Linked DNA regions of Homo sapiens: all the other regions are linked to region 1. Evidence: promoter capture Hi-C in human tissues and cell types (Jung and others, 2019). All regions are on one chromosome and are shown on one strand. Each heading gives the region's core, a stretch centred on a gene start or on the middle of the fragment in contact. The rest is flanking DNA. Distances are from core to core; before and after follow the strand shown. Region 1 holds the start of B3GALT2 (beta-1,3-galactosyltransferase 2). Region 2 overlaps LOC124904475 (a long non-coding RNA gene). Region 3 overlaps LOC124904475 (a long non-coding RNA gene).

Evidence for each region. The method cuts DNA at HindIII sites, captures the fragments that hold promoters and counts their contacts. A contact is called where the count stands out against the background at its distance.
Region 2: a contact is called between a fragment that was not itself captured here and the fragment with the promoter of B3GALT2 in region 1, in 1 of the 25 tissues and cell types used here (mesenchymal stem cells).
Region 3: a fragment that was not itself captured here is called in contact with the fragment with the promoter of B3GALT2 in region 1 in 2 of the 25 tissues and cell types used here (heart left ventricle and thymus).

What each region holds. Positions count from the first base shown.
Region 1 is chr1:193,183,882-193,188,711 of GRCh38, reverse strand. B3GALT2 (beta-1,3-galactosyltransferase 2) reads left to right here and starts at 2,099. Exons shown (of 2, transcript NM_003783.3): 1 at 2,099-2,693. The region is part of intron 10 of CDC73 (cell division cycle 73); the gene reads right to left. The HindIII fragment of the contact is 2,577 bases long and covers 1,151-3,727 here.
Region 2 is chr1:193,982,316-193,987,145 of GRCh38, reverse strand. The region is part of intron 5 of LOC124904475 (a long non-coding RNA gene); the gene reads right to left. Among named protein-coding and RNA genes, the nearest start is that of LINC01031, 680 kb to the right of the region's middle. The HindIII fragment of the contact is 4,934 bases long and covers 1-4,585 here.
Region 3 is chr1:193,858,620-193,863,449 of GRCh38, reverse strand. The region is part of intron 3 of LOC124904475 (a long non-coding RNA gene); the gene reads right to left. Among named protein-coding and RNA genes, the nearest start is that of LINC01031, 560 kb to the right of the region's middle. The HindIII fragment of the contact is 4,838 bases long and covers 251-4,830 here.

The DNA.
Region 1 (4,830 bases), core at 850-3,349:
TAATCCAGGGAGACATTAAAAAAATCCAATCAAAAGAACTGGCAAAAGAATAATAATTATTTAGTCCTTTCCTGGAGAAAGGGGTAGGGAATGTCTCTAAATCAACTTTGTATCCCCTATACTTAATAAGCTATGCCTAAATGCACATGTTGGTACACAGTAGTTAATCAATATGTACCTGTTGAAAAAGTGAAAATATAAACATTCATTTATTATTCTATTAATGATTCCTGGGTATGCTGCGCCAGTGTTCAGAAAAAAAAAAAATCCCACAATTTCTCTAGCAGTGCCATGTAATAAAAAGTTTAAGAACAGAGAATAATGATAGTACTAGATAGATTTAAAAAGAAAACAAAAACACAGAGGATAAGAATTTAGATAATCTTGCTTCAATTCCCAGCTTGGCCTCTATTCTTATCAGTATTTATCTGACATTTGGACTATTTTACAACTCCAGGCACTGGTTCTGCATCTTTTAAGTGGGTATTACAATAATAAAATTATTAGAAAAGAGCCATTTGCATAACAGCTCAAGTAAGCTTAGCACGCAATCTGATTTTCAGTAAATACTCCATAAATGGTCATTGTGGCTAGCTTCATAGTCAAATCCTATGTAAAGAATCACTGATAAATAAATACTGATCTACAAAAACACATCTGTACTTCTGGAAAATAAGTTATTTTAAGTAAGTTCTTAAGCATTACTCTGTTAACTAGTAAACTAATTTTAAAAACAAAACGGTAGTGAGTGAGAATTGCAGTATGGGTGGATATAGACTACAAGGAAGTTGGGTTTTAGTCCTCTCCTTCAAACTTAACTAGGAAAAGTCAAAGCTCAGTCTAGGCTTTAGGTTTCCTATTTATAAAATTCTTTTTTTTCTTTAACGATCCTTCTAACATTTCTAATACAGTGGGGTTCTTAAAACTACAAAGCACATTTCATCAGCAAAGCTCAAAAATATGTGGACAAAATTTTTTTTAATATCAGAGAAAACAAATTCATATTCATTTGAAATAGCATATATTAATGGTGGAGGCAGTGAGATGAAGAATATGTATATAACTGTTAACCTTTAGCTTAAGCTCCAAAACTATAACTTTCTAGGACTGAATTACTGTCCCTAGAGTCACAGAGGAAAAACTGATAATAAAGGCTTTTTACTACAACAAAAAATTTAAAAAAACCTTCCCTACTGCTCTGCAGTAAGAAAAGAAGGTGCCAGCCCCAGAAACTAACCATATTAGAAAAATCTCAGTGAGTGTGTAGTGTTAATAAAATCTGCCTCATGGCAAGTTATTAAATCTTTCTGAAACATTAGAATAAGTAAACATAATTAGTAAAATCTCATTACCCCCAGATCCTGTACAAGTGTGCTATATCTATTACATCATTTTACTGAATTCTACGATACATGTAATTTTAAAGGGAAGGAAAAATAAATAAAAAATAAATGACAACATTAAAAAGTGATTTAAAATAAAGTTTTCTGCCATCAAGAACACCAAAAACCACATAAGAGCAAAAAAGAAGTGGGCTGTATCACATCATGCATTAGTAAAGTAATCCAAGACAGCTTATTTATACAAACCCCAGAAAACGGGGGGGGGGATCTAAATTACAAAGATACATGGTTTCAATAGAAACCATAGGTCTTAACTACATATTAGTAAAAAATCAAGAGCAATTTGAAAGCAGAGAAAAAAAACTTCAAGAAGAGAATGCACTGAAGGGGTTAAATTACACCAACTTACACACAAAAGCTTATACTGCTTACACCCTACAAAAGCATGTAAGAAACATGAAAACCAACATCTAACACAGAAAACACTTAGAAAGCCTGTACTTAAGAATAAAGTTAAAAAAGGAAGTAAGCTGGAAAAAATAAAATCATAACCATTTCATAATCATCACATTTTCAAATTATTCACTCATCACTACACTTGCATTCAACATATATAATTTATCACATAAAAGCAAAATCTCTAAGCTTCTCCCTACCTTAGGTTTTTAGTCAAAATGAATGCAAACAATCACGTGGGATTCAGCCAAGCAGTGACGTTAAATTCTGCTCTGTCAGAGAGAGCATCTGTCAAGCCCACATTTAAACTGCTGCCTGCCTGTGCAGCAGCTGAGGAACCGTGGATTTCATATTATAGACTAAAACCCCATTAAAACTGCTCAAAATCCTTCCTGCAGCTGCCAGGCAACAACGAAAGAAGAGAGGTAAATCCTATTCTTTTCCAATACAACTGAAGCACTACATTTTAGCTCTGGCTGCTTTACATTGCAGCTCAGTGTTATTAGTAGAAATATGGATACTGAGACGAGAACACAGCACTGCATTGTCCAGCCAGGAAAATAGCAGATGTAAAAAGCTTCAATGCATCAACTGTCGGGAAGAGTCAACAGTGCTACAAGCAGAACGGGCAACTACAGCTCTTTTGTTTAACGAAAGAGAGAAAATGAAAGAAAGGGAAAATTTCAGAAGACTAGGACCCATATGAACAAGGAGGGTAACTCGAAGACAAGCAGACAGATGGACACTTTGGATACTGTGAAAAGCAATCGCAGGAGGCAGACTGTTGGGGGATGTGCGCATGTTCGATAGCATCTTTTTTGCTGAAGTGATGGCGTGCCAAAAGTATTTTCAGTGGGCATAATCCTCTTCACATAAATGGCCTGACCAAGGAAGGTATGTCAATATCTTGTGTATGATAGTCATTTAAATGTGTTACCTTTTTATAGCCCTGGAGGCACTAATACCTGATAAGCAAGTTCATACAGCTCACTGCCCTTGAAACTATGAAAAGGTTTCTTAATATCTGATTTTAAAATTTGTCATTGTTTAGAAGACAAGCTGTCACTGCTTTATGCAGCTAAATATGTAGCTTGGAGTAATTCTGGGTAATAGACATCAGAGGGAAAAGGCAAATAAGAAGAAGATGTGTTTAAAGGATTCCTTAAGAAATTAAACTTAAAAAAAAATCTGTAGCCCTTTACAAAAAACACAGCAATATTCTATCAAATTAGGTCAAACTGAATCCTTATCTAGTAAATTAAATGCTCTCTTAAAAATGGCTATCAAAAGACACAATGCAGTGAAATTTCATTAAATAGTAGCAAGGAAAACCTTAAGAGTTTTTTTTTCAAAGTCCTTTTAAAACAAAACCTTAATATGTAACAGCTTTTAGTAACAAAATCTTCCCCAACATCTCCCTAAATGAAGATAATGAACACAACCAAAGAGAGTATCAACAAATTTTAAATATTACCAAGCTACAAGAAGATACTAAAAGGAAAGCATTAACATAAGATCACATAAGGTAGTGTGAGTTTATGCATAACCCCACAATAGAGCCTCGTGTTATTATAGTGACCATGAATAGAACTTTAAACAAAGGGACATCAATAGTGGCTTTAAAAATTAACTATTTTAAATAGCTTACATTTTATGTAAAAGACTGATTCCAAATGATCAAATTTAACGTTGTCTCTGATTATCATTTCAGAAGTGAAATTCAAAAACATAATATGGAAATACTTTGATACAAAAATATCCACAAATGGCAATACAAGGTCAAAAAATTAAATATAAATGTAGCTACTATGCTTCCAGGCTATATTAATATGCAGTAATGAACTACCGCCACTATATGTGTGTGCAGGGCACAGATAAACCAAATAAACTATTTTAGCAACAATCATAGAACAGCAACTCAGGGCTCAAGAACTTAAAGATATTTCTAAAATTCTACAAATCTATCAAAGATCCTGATTTTTCCTCAATTTCACAACACAACTCAGTAATTATCTAATAATCACAAAAGGCAAACATTTTTTAAAAATATGTAAGTACTGCATTCCAAAATGAAGATTAAACAAGTTTACCAGACTCTATTACACCTCAACATCACTCTCACCCATGAATTTTTATTCTAATAAAGACTAATAATAAATAGTACTAAAAAATATGGTTGTAAAAATTTCAAGTCCCTCTTGGTACCTTAATCTCTCAATATTGAAGTCACCAATTAAGCAGTTTTATAAGCTATACATCTCAAAACAAAAGTGTAAGTTTTTCTATTAAACCATCACCAACAGACTAAAGAGATCAACACTTTTAAAAGCCAAATGATAAAAACTGAGTGTGTACTGAACAGCATTTTACAGTAACATTCTCCCCATGAACTTCATCCACAAGCTATAAATACACATTAATAATGTGAAGATATCAAAAAAGAAGAGATAAACCAAAGCTATTTCTCTTCTAAAAATGTAAAAGTGCAGAACTATTTTGCATACTACTGAACTTTCTTGTTTTGCTCTCTCTTTTTAAGAATTAAAATACAACAGGCAATAACTGGAGAATAATTTTATCATTTAATAAAAAGCAGGCATGGTTATTTTAATTTTATATTCTTTTTAACAAAAAAATTTATAAGACCTGAGAATCTTTTAATAAGGAATTTTTTAAAGGCTAGACACATGCACTTCATTTATCAATGGGAGATTTATAGTTATATATGGATTTAATATCTCAACAGCTTAACATCTAAAACATACAAATACCATGAAGTCTAAATTAAGATGCATCTCTATCACATACTGTTACAAAATCATATTAGGACCAAAACTATGTATTTATGCTACATTACAATATGCAATAATTTGCTGTTTTCTGTAATACTAAAATACTTTAGAGACATCTTCAGGTATATTGTTCTTATAAAAGCAACATAAATTATGATTATTTTCCATCATTTATTTACTCAGTCCTTTAACTCAAACATCCATTCAAACATCTGACCTTATTGTTTACTCCTTCTTAC
Region 2 (4,830 bases), core at 869-3,368, 800 kb before region 1:
AGGTAAGAAAATGTGAATAATTTTGTAAATAATATTAGAATATTTAGACTTTAGTGTGCTGTTTAGTTTATTTAAAAGGCTTGCATAAATGTTTAGGTAATATATTCTTGTAAGGATCATATGTTAGATCTGTTTAGTACTTGAAGGATTTAAAAAGAAAATTTGAATCATTAAATTAGTCAATGCAATGTTAAATACTATCTACTAATTTAATTATTCAAGGCCAAACATTATACTACTTATTAAATCTCTTCAACTTTAATAAAACATTAATTAATGATCAGCCATTGTGGAAGACAGTGTGGTAATTCCTCAGTGACCTAAATACAGAAATACCATTTGACCCAACAATCCCATTACTGGGTATATGCCCAAAGGAATATAGATCATTGTATTATAAAGACACATGCATGCATATGTTCATTGCAGCACTATATACAATAGCAAAGACATGGAATCATCCTAAATGCCCATTAGTGATAGACTGGATAAAGAAAATGTGATACATATACACTATGGGATACCATGCAGCCATAAAAAAGAATAAGATCATGTCCTTTGCAGGGTCATGAGTGCAGCTAGAGGCCAGTATCCCTAGCAAACTAACATGGGAATATACAACCAAATTCTGCATGTGCTGACCTATAAGTGGGAGCTAAATGATGAGAAGACATAGACACATAGAGGGGAACAGCACACACTGGGGCCTTTTGGAGGGTGGAGGAGGGAGAGAATCAGGAAAAACAACTAATGGGTACTAGGCTTAATACCTGGGGCAATGAAATAATCTCTACAACAAACCCCCATGGCGCAAGTTTACCTGTGTAACAAACCTACATTTGTACCCCTGAACTTAAACATTTTTTAAAAACCTGTTAAGTTGGAAAAAAAGACAATTGTTGTACTTTTTAAAATAATTATCTGTCAGATATTTTATAGGTCTTCAATCTTTCTTGGTCCATTGCTGAAGCTTTGTTGGTGTCTTTTGGTGTTGTTGTATTTCCCTGAGTTTTTACAATTCTTGCGTCTTTACAATAATGCTTGTGTATTTGAGAAGAAAGCTGTAAAAATTTGCATACAAACTACTAGATTGGTGAACAAAATAAGAATGAAAGAGCAATCAATATAAAATAAAAAGGTAAAATGTAAAAATTTGCATACAAATTACTAGATTGGTGAACAAAATAAGAATGAAAGAGCAATCAATATAAAATAAAAAGGTAAAATGGTATAGCTAAAGGCCAAATGTTAAGTTGCTTGGAACTCTAAAAATATTTACATCAACTAAAATAAGAAAGGGAAGGAGAAACAGAGAAATGCAGGAAAATGGTACAAATAGATAAAATAGTAAATTATGGATGACAATCCAAACTTATCAGTAATTAAATTACTAATGATATAAACACCCTAATTGAAAGACAAGGATTGTCAAAATATATGAGACACAATTATATACTGATTACTAGAGATACTTATTAAATATAAGAAAACAAACAGGATACAATTGAATGATGAGGTAAAAAAGATATACCATGTAAACAGTAAGCATAAGAAGACTGGAATGTGGATTTTCACTCTGGCAAAGATGGAGCAATTGGCATATATTTTACCTTCCCACCATACACAACAATAAAACTAAAGAACAAATATTTAAAAAAAAAAAAAAACAGACTTCAGACTTTGAACAGAGAGCACAGTACAGTGATTCATGGAATAAATTAAATAATGAAGTGACTATGATTTTCCCTAATTAATGCCTGAAGAGAGTTTCCAGGTACAGCATAAAAAGAGGAACCTCAGGTGAAACCCAGAAGTGTTCGCTGGTTATGAAGAAAGAGTTCAAGTTTTCCAGACTGCTGAAGCAAAACATTCACTATATGTCTTTCAGCACTCAGAAGAGTTGTTGTTTTCACCAACCATAGTTGGCAAAATCTATGTATAGTAGATAGCTATAGATATATGCTCTCATGAGATATATATATATATATATATATATATATATTCTTTCTATAAAGTCTCAAATAAAAATCCTATGAATGAAAAAAGGTAGCTACAAATTAGCTGCAACTAACATATTACTTTATTTTGAAAGCATATATGTTTTGCTCCTAGTGTCTGAAATAGAAAAGACCTGGGAGCTCTATGTTTGTCTGTTGGGATACTTTTAAGTCTGATATTGACTAGTTGGTGACTTATAATATGCTGTTTAAAGTTTGAAACTCCTTGGAGGCATTCAGGACTATTTGGCTACATTTTTGAAGAAATGTATGAACTGATGACTTTTACCTGGTATATCTTATCACGTAGCCTGGCTTGACTATTAGATAGAATTAAAGAGTATAGGGTTATTAAAGAAATTGCTGGAAGTTTTTGCCTGGGTTTTTTCTAAAACCCAACTTTCTCTCACACAGTCAATTATTCATAATCCAAATATAAAGCACATCCTGTTCAACAAAGAAAGGACCCTGAGGAGCTGTGCCTAGATGTGTCAATAATCACATTAAATGTAAATGGTCTAAACATCCCAATTAAAAGGTGGAGACTGTCAGACTGAATAAAAATTCAACAGCCATCTCTATGATGCTGTCTAATTGAAGCCCATATTAAATGTGCAAACATAAAGATGTTAAAAGTAAAAGGACAGAAAAAGATATACCATGCTAAAACTGGAGTTGCTATATTAATATCAGATATTGTATATTGCAAAACCAAGATAATTAATGGAAATTAGAAAAGGGCATTTTATAATTATAAAGAGGTCAACTCATCAAGAGGATATAAAATCTCAAATATTTTTTGCACTAATAATAGAGTTTAAAATACATGAAGCAAAAAGTTGTAGAACAGCAAGGAGAAATAGACTAATCCATAACTAGAGTTAGAGGTTCAATATTAAATAGAACAAACAGACACAATATTTTCAAATTGGGGAATATTTGTACCACATTATCAACCAACTGAATCTAACTGACATTTATAGAACGCCACACCAACAACAGCAGAATATTCATTCTTTTCAAGTATCAGAGAACTTTTGCCAAGGTATTCCATTTGGGAACTGAAATAAATCTCAAAAAATTTATACAGATTAAAGTCATGAAAAGTATGCTCTCTCACCACAATGGATTTAAATTAGAAGTAATATTAAAATGCTATCTGAAAGATATCTAGATATTTGGAAACTAAATACCATACTTTTAAATAATTTTTATGGCAAAGAAAAAAACACAAAGGAAATTATGAAGTATTTTAAGCTGAATAACAATGAAAAACATAGCATATGTACGTTTGTTAGTTGCCTACAAAGTAGTATTTAGAGAAAATTTTACAGAATAAAATGTCTATATTAGGAAAGAACACACATCTCAAAATCAAAAATAGTAGCTTTCACCCTAAGACACTAGAAAAAAAGCAATTTATTCCCAAAGTAAATAATAAATAATAATAATGTTAAAGCAGAAATCAATGACATAGACAAAAAAAGTGAAAAATAAATTTTAAAAATATGGTTCTTTGAGAAAATCAGAATACTTGATAATTATCTAGTCAGACTAATCAGAGGGAAAAATGAACTATTAATATCAAGAATAAGAGTTGAGACCAATACAGATTGAAATTCCACAGACATAATAAAGGATATAAGGAAACATTATGAATGTTTTGTCAGTAACTTCAACTTAGATGGAATAGACAAATACCCTAAAAAACACAAAGTACCAAAGATCATTCAAAAAGAAATAGATCACATGTGTATTGCTATATATACTATAGAAATTAAATCTAGTTAAAAGCTTCCCACAAATATAACTTAAAACCCATAGGATATACTGGTGAATTCAATCAAACTTTTAAAGAATAATAGCAATTCTATAAAGATTCTTGCAGAAAATTAAAGAGGAGCAAATAATCTTCAATTTATTCTGTGAGAACATCATAACCCTGATAACAAACACAGACAAAGGCATTAGAAGAAAAGAAAATTGGAGTTCAGAACTGTGCTTTAATGCTTGATAGAATGTAGCACATATAATGCAAAATATATTAAAAGGATAATATAATTACTAAGTAATATTTATTTCAAGACTGCAAGTTTAGTCTAACATTAAAAGATCAATTGATATTATATATCATATTAAGAAAAAAAGCCTTTGATGCAGTTCAAACATCCATTCCTAATAAAACCTCTCAGCAAACCAGAAATAGACCATAATGCCCTGAATTTAGATAAAGAACTTTTGCAACAAACCAACAGCTTATACTACACACAATGGTAAAAGACGGCATGTTTCGCCACTAAGATCAGGACTGGTCTTACCATTTCTGTTCTTCACTATACTGGAGGTGACGGCCAGTGCCAAAAAATAAAAATAAAAATAAAACAAATAAAAGATATCTGCATAGGAAAGCAGTAAAACACTCTTTATTTGCAGATGACATAATCGTATCTACCAAAGTAAAATGAAATTTAAAATATTAATAAAATTAATGTGTTTGTTTAGCAAGGCTTGAGGATACAAGACCAACACATAATAATTAATTTTATTTCTATATGCTAGCAACTAACTATTGAAACTGATAAAGTATCAATTACATAGCATCAAAAAATAAGATTCATTAAAATATAAAAAAATTTGTGAAATTAATACATTGACCACTATAAAATATTGCTGAGAATACCTAAAGATATTAAACTTTAGGTATTAAGTAAAGTATTAAGTATAAAGGTATTAACTAAAAAGAGAGATATACCTTATTCATGGGTTGGAAAATTCAATATTAGTAAAATGTCAAATTTTCCTTTATTAGTCTTTGACTCAATGCAGTACCAAC
Region 3 (4,830 bases), core at 1,420-3,919, 670 kb before region 1:
AGTGAAGGAAAGATCCGCCACCATAATTCAATCACTCGCCTCCATGTTCCTCTCACAACACAGGGGAATTGGGAGAGTTACAATTCAAAATGAGATTTGGGTGGGGACACAGCAAAACCATATCACTCTCTCTCTTTTGCCTTCCCTCCCTTTTTTTAGGTCATCAGTTTTTGTTAAGAAAGATAAACATATATTAATACTTCTGAAAACTGCAGTATAATTGATCTTCTTCATTGAATTAATAAACATATGTGATCTGGGTCAGTGTAACAGCCACAACTTAAAGTCCATCTCCTAGACTCTCATCCTATGGTGGCATTAGAGGCATTTTTCATATCTAGAAATATTGAAAAATATTTTCTTCTAAAGCCTGGAGATAATAGTAATTTATATGTGCACTTTCATATATAAGAGATATATACAGTGTCTTATACTTCACAATAATTATTTGTAAAATATTCACAATATTCTTTGTAAAAATTGCTATTATTTGGAGGTTTTAATTACTGAACAATTGAAACTAAGTCATAAGAGCACATTACAAAACTGAGCTTCAAGCATAGATTTTTGTATTCATTTCATAAAAACAGTTGATAGTTTACTGAGATAAGATTTTCTATTGGGTCCGTTAAAAATTGTATTTTTAAATAGAAAACATCGTCACAGATATGCACATTCATTTTCTCTCTCCTCCGTCTATTATTATTCAAGCTACCCATTTCATCTCTGACATCTCTTTCCTTGGACAAACAATATTTAATTCCTATTAATTAAGAATTCCCTCTTTTCAGAATATTTACATTTCCTATTAGTTCAGTTACACATAATGTAATTTGGTAATTTTTTTGTTGTACTTGTTTTGTTTGTTTGCAGAGGTATTTTGCCACTTCATATATATTTTTTTTAAATCTCAGTGTACAGTAAATACAACCAAATGAAAACCAATGGGAGGAAATTGTGTGTTTGTGTGTGTGTGTGTGTGTGTGTGTGTGTGACAATGAAGATTTAGACATGTCTCAAGTTTTTTTTTTTTTTTTTTTTTTTTTTTGTTTTTTTTTTTTTTTTTTGAGACGGAGTCTCGCTCTGTCGCCCAGGCTGGAGTGCAGTGGCGGGATCTCGGCTCACTGCAAGCTCCGCCTCCCGGGTTCACGCCATTCTCCTGCCTCAGCTTCCCAAGTAGCTGGGACCACAGGCGCCCGCCACTACGCCCGGCTAATTTTTTGTATTTTTAGTAGAGACGGGGTTTCACCGTTTTAGCCGGGATGGTCTCGATCTCCTGACCTCGTGATCCGCCCGCCTCGGCCTCCCAAAGTGCTGGGATTACAGGCGTGAGCCACCGCGCCCGGCCATGTCTCAAGTTTTTAACAGCTTAGTAGAAATAGCAATATTCATCTGCAAGAATCTCTTACCACTATCTCCCATCAACCATATCAAACTTCTTCTGAAGCATTTTTATTGTTGTTGTTATCGTGCTATTATTTCCTCACATGAAAAGCAACAGTCGTGCCAGGCGCGGTGGCTCACGCCTGTAATCCCAGCACTTTAGGAGGCTGAGACGGGCGGATTACGAGGTCAAGAGATTGAGACCATCCTGGCTAATACGGTGAAACCCCGTCTCTACTAAAAACTAAAAAAGATTAGCCAGGCCTGGTGGCAGGCACCTGTAGTCCCAGCCACTCGGGAGGCTGAGGCAGGAGAATGGCGTGAACCCAGGAGGCGAAGCTTGCAGTGAGCCAAAATCCTGCCACTGCACTCCAGCCTGGGCGACAGCATGAGACTCCATCTAAAAAAAAATAAAATAAAATAAAGCAAGTCATATTAAGACTCATGTCCCCTATATTAAAGATGATCCCACATCTATAATTCTATTACAGAAGTACACTGGTGTTTTTAATGCCAGTGGCTTTTAGATAATTATGTTTCTAACACAATTAAATTTATCAGCGTAACAACCCATTCAGCAAAACAGAAAAGAGGCAATATTTGCATCAATGGTGCTTTGAAATGAACATTTTCCTTCAGGGATGCACAGCCACATAGTCTCTACTCTTTTCTCTTGACAGGTTATAAATATTCTCAGAAGTAACTGTTTTGATGTTGCCTTAAAAACAGGGGGAGGGAAGGGGATGAGGAAAGAACACTGAGGCTACATGCATTTTCACATCAATTTTGCTTTCACATTTGATAGTTTATTTATATTGCTGTTATTTGCATTTCTCATGTTACTTCATACTTTAGTCTTAGCTAATGACTTTCCATGAAATGATACTTCATGGTGTTTTTTGCCGAATGAAACCTTATCTTAGTTTCTTGTTATGATAGATAAATCCAATCAACAACAACCGTATGTTAAGAACTTTTAAGTTTGTTTGTTAGAGTCAACAATTTCTGAAAGCCTCTATTCTTAGTTATACATAATACATGTCTGTAAATCAGAGAGCATTCCATAACAGAAAAGGAATTTAGAGAAATGACTATTAAATTTTACTGGGAGAAAGATAGTGGAATTGTGTTCATATTTCAATACAATTTGGAAATGTTTATATGTGATTCCGCTTCTAAATTACCTAAAGATTAAAAAAAAAATTCTGCCATAACTCATCCCTTCTCAAACTTTTCCACCCGAGATTCTAAAGATACCTTTATAGAAGCATAAATTATTTGAATTTTGTTCTATGCTCTTTAATAAATGTTGATTGCAGTCAAACTCTAATTAATATGGCAACATACTATCTTTAGTCCTGTTAAGAGATGAGTAGAATCACCTCGATCATGTGGAACAAAATAGAAGAATCAGACCTGAACTAGCAAAATTGTATTAATTTCCCTCTACAATCAGCCATACTATTTGCATTTCCAACATATTTTTACATACTTTTGTGAGAAAAAATGGTTTTGAATGAGGCTTTCCATGTCCTTTATTCTGCCCAGAAATAAATTACTGGATTCTAAAATACATTTAGTATTACCTAGAGGACTTGTGAAAACATAGATTCCTGAGCTCTACCTGCAGAATTTTTAAATCAGGAGCTCTGGAGTGAGACCCAGGAAATTGTGTTTCTAACAAGTTTCCAGGTGATGCTGCTGCTGCTGCTAATTTGAGACCACTGAATGTGAGAAAGCTTGGACTCTTCCTAAGTACACCTTGGATAATTCCCTGATTGCAGCCTACTCAATAGATAATAATTTTGATTAATCTTCATACTCTCCTTCTTTTAAAAATTTTTCAAAAAAAAACCCTGAAGAAATACGAATTGTGTCCTAATAATGTAAGAGCTGGGGATGCATAGTCTATTTATTTTTCCCCTAGTCAGAAGATCAGAATAATATGAACGGAGGAAGGCAGGAAGGGAGGAAGGGACAGACGGATGGAGGGAGGGAGGGAAAGGAGGGAGAAAGAAATAAATTAGTTTCAAGGGCTTCAAAGAGAAAGATGTCTTAAATAATAATGATAACAAAATAAATGCCCTTTGTCTGAAAGGGGGACTTAGAGGACCTCAGAACCTGTCAATTCTGGTAATTTTAAAAATTATATCTCTTGTCCTCAAATAACTTTTCTTTTAATTCTCAGCTGCCAAGATAAGGGTTCAGTTACAATAATTTGTTGATGGGCTTATTAGTAATTTCATTTGGGGGCCTCTAATTGAGTTCCTTACTCTGACTACAACAAAAAGTTTCTATAGACCTTATTTAATATGAATGCTTTGATCAATTAACAATTATGAAAGTAATCAATTTTAAATAGGACATATTTGTAAGTTTAAAACATTTCACAGGACACTTACCTAGTTATTAATCTTGTTTCTTTCATGGCAGAATAATTGAAACAAAGGTACTCTATCTACAGCAAATAATAGTCACTTGTAAATATTTCGTAATTTCATCTTAAAATACAATTTTATTTCAGGCATTATTACAAATATGTAAAAGATTCTTACAGAATCCAGTCCCTTTCTACTTGTGACTCTTCTAAACCAGAATAACTTTTCAGAACACAGTAAGGAAATAAAGTTTGAACTAGCTACCTATATATTACAAATCTGTTTTAATATTTACAACATAAATTAATAGACATTACCCTGTCCAAAACAAAAATAGCACTGACAAAAGATCTACATACAACCGGTGTCTTATCCACCTGTTGGCTATTTAGGTGCCCAGAATTTCCTAGATTCAACATAGTACAAACAATGTAAGATGAAGTCTGGCACGTAAGAAGTTGACACTCTAACCTGGAAGACAATGAGGTGTTGAAATTAAGTCAGAATGAATAAATGAGACTTCATGCCGTAGAAAATACAAGAGAGATTTCTAGGGGTAGTAAGAAAAATCTTGGCCTTAATTTGGAAGAACGAGCTTCATAAATTTAGCTAGCAGAGAGTGAGGGGTGTCTTCTGCAGAACACCTCCTGGTAAATTCACAGGCTCAGCAGCGTACAAGGATGGCTAGCATGGGGAGCTAGTCTGCCTTACCATTACAACAATAAGGGTTATGCTTTTCCCACCCCGGCACCTCATTCTAGATATGGAATGGTAGATATGTAGATTTTAAATATGGTATTGTTTAGGTTACAAGCTATTGATGGTGAAAAAGAACCATTTAAGCACCAGGTAGAATTGCATGTATTTTGGCAGCATAGTTAGCTCTTAAATAAAATTCAGCTATTTCTTTGCTGTTAAAAATAATATTAACAACTATTCAATACATTCAAATGACTTCTATTTAGTTAAAATTAAATATGTTTGTGTTTCTATCTTGTTAAAGCTAATTTTTTCTGCTGCATTTTCCTCAAAAGCCTGTACATACAACGTTTGCAGGCCTTTGTTGGGG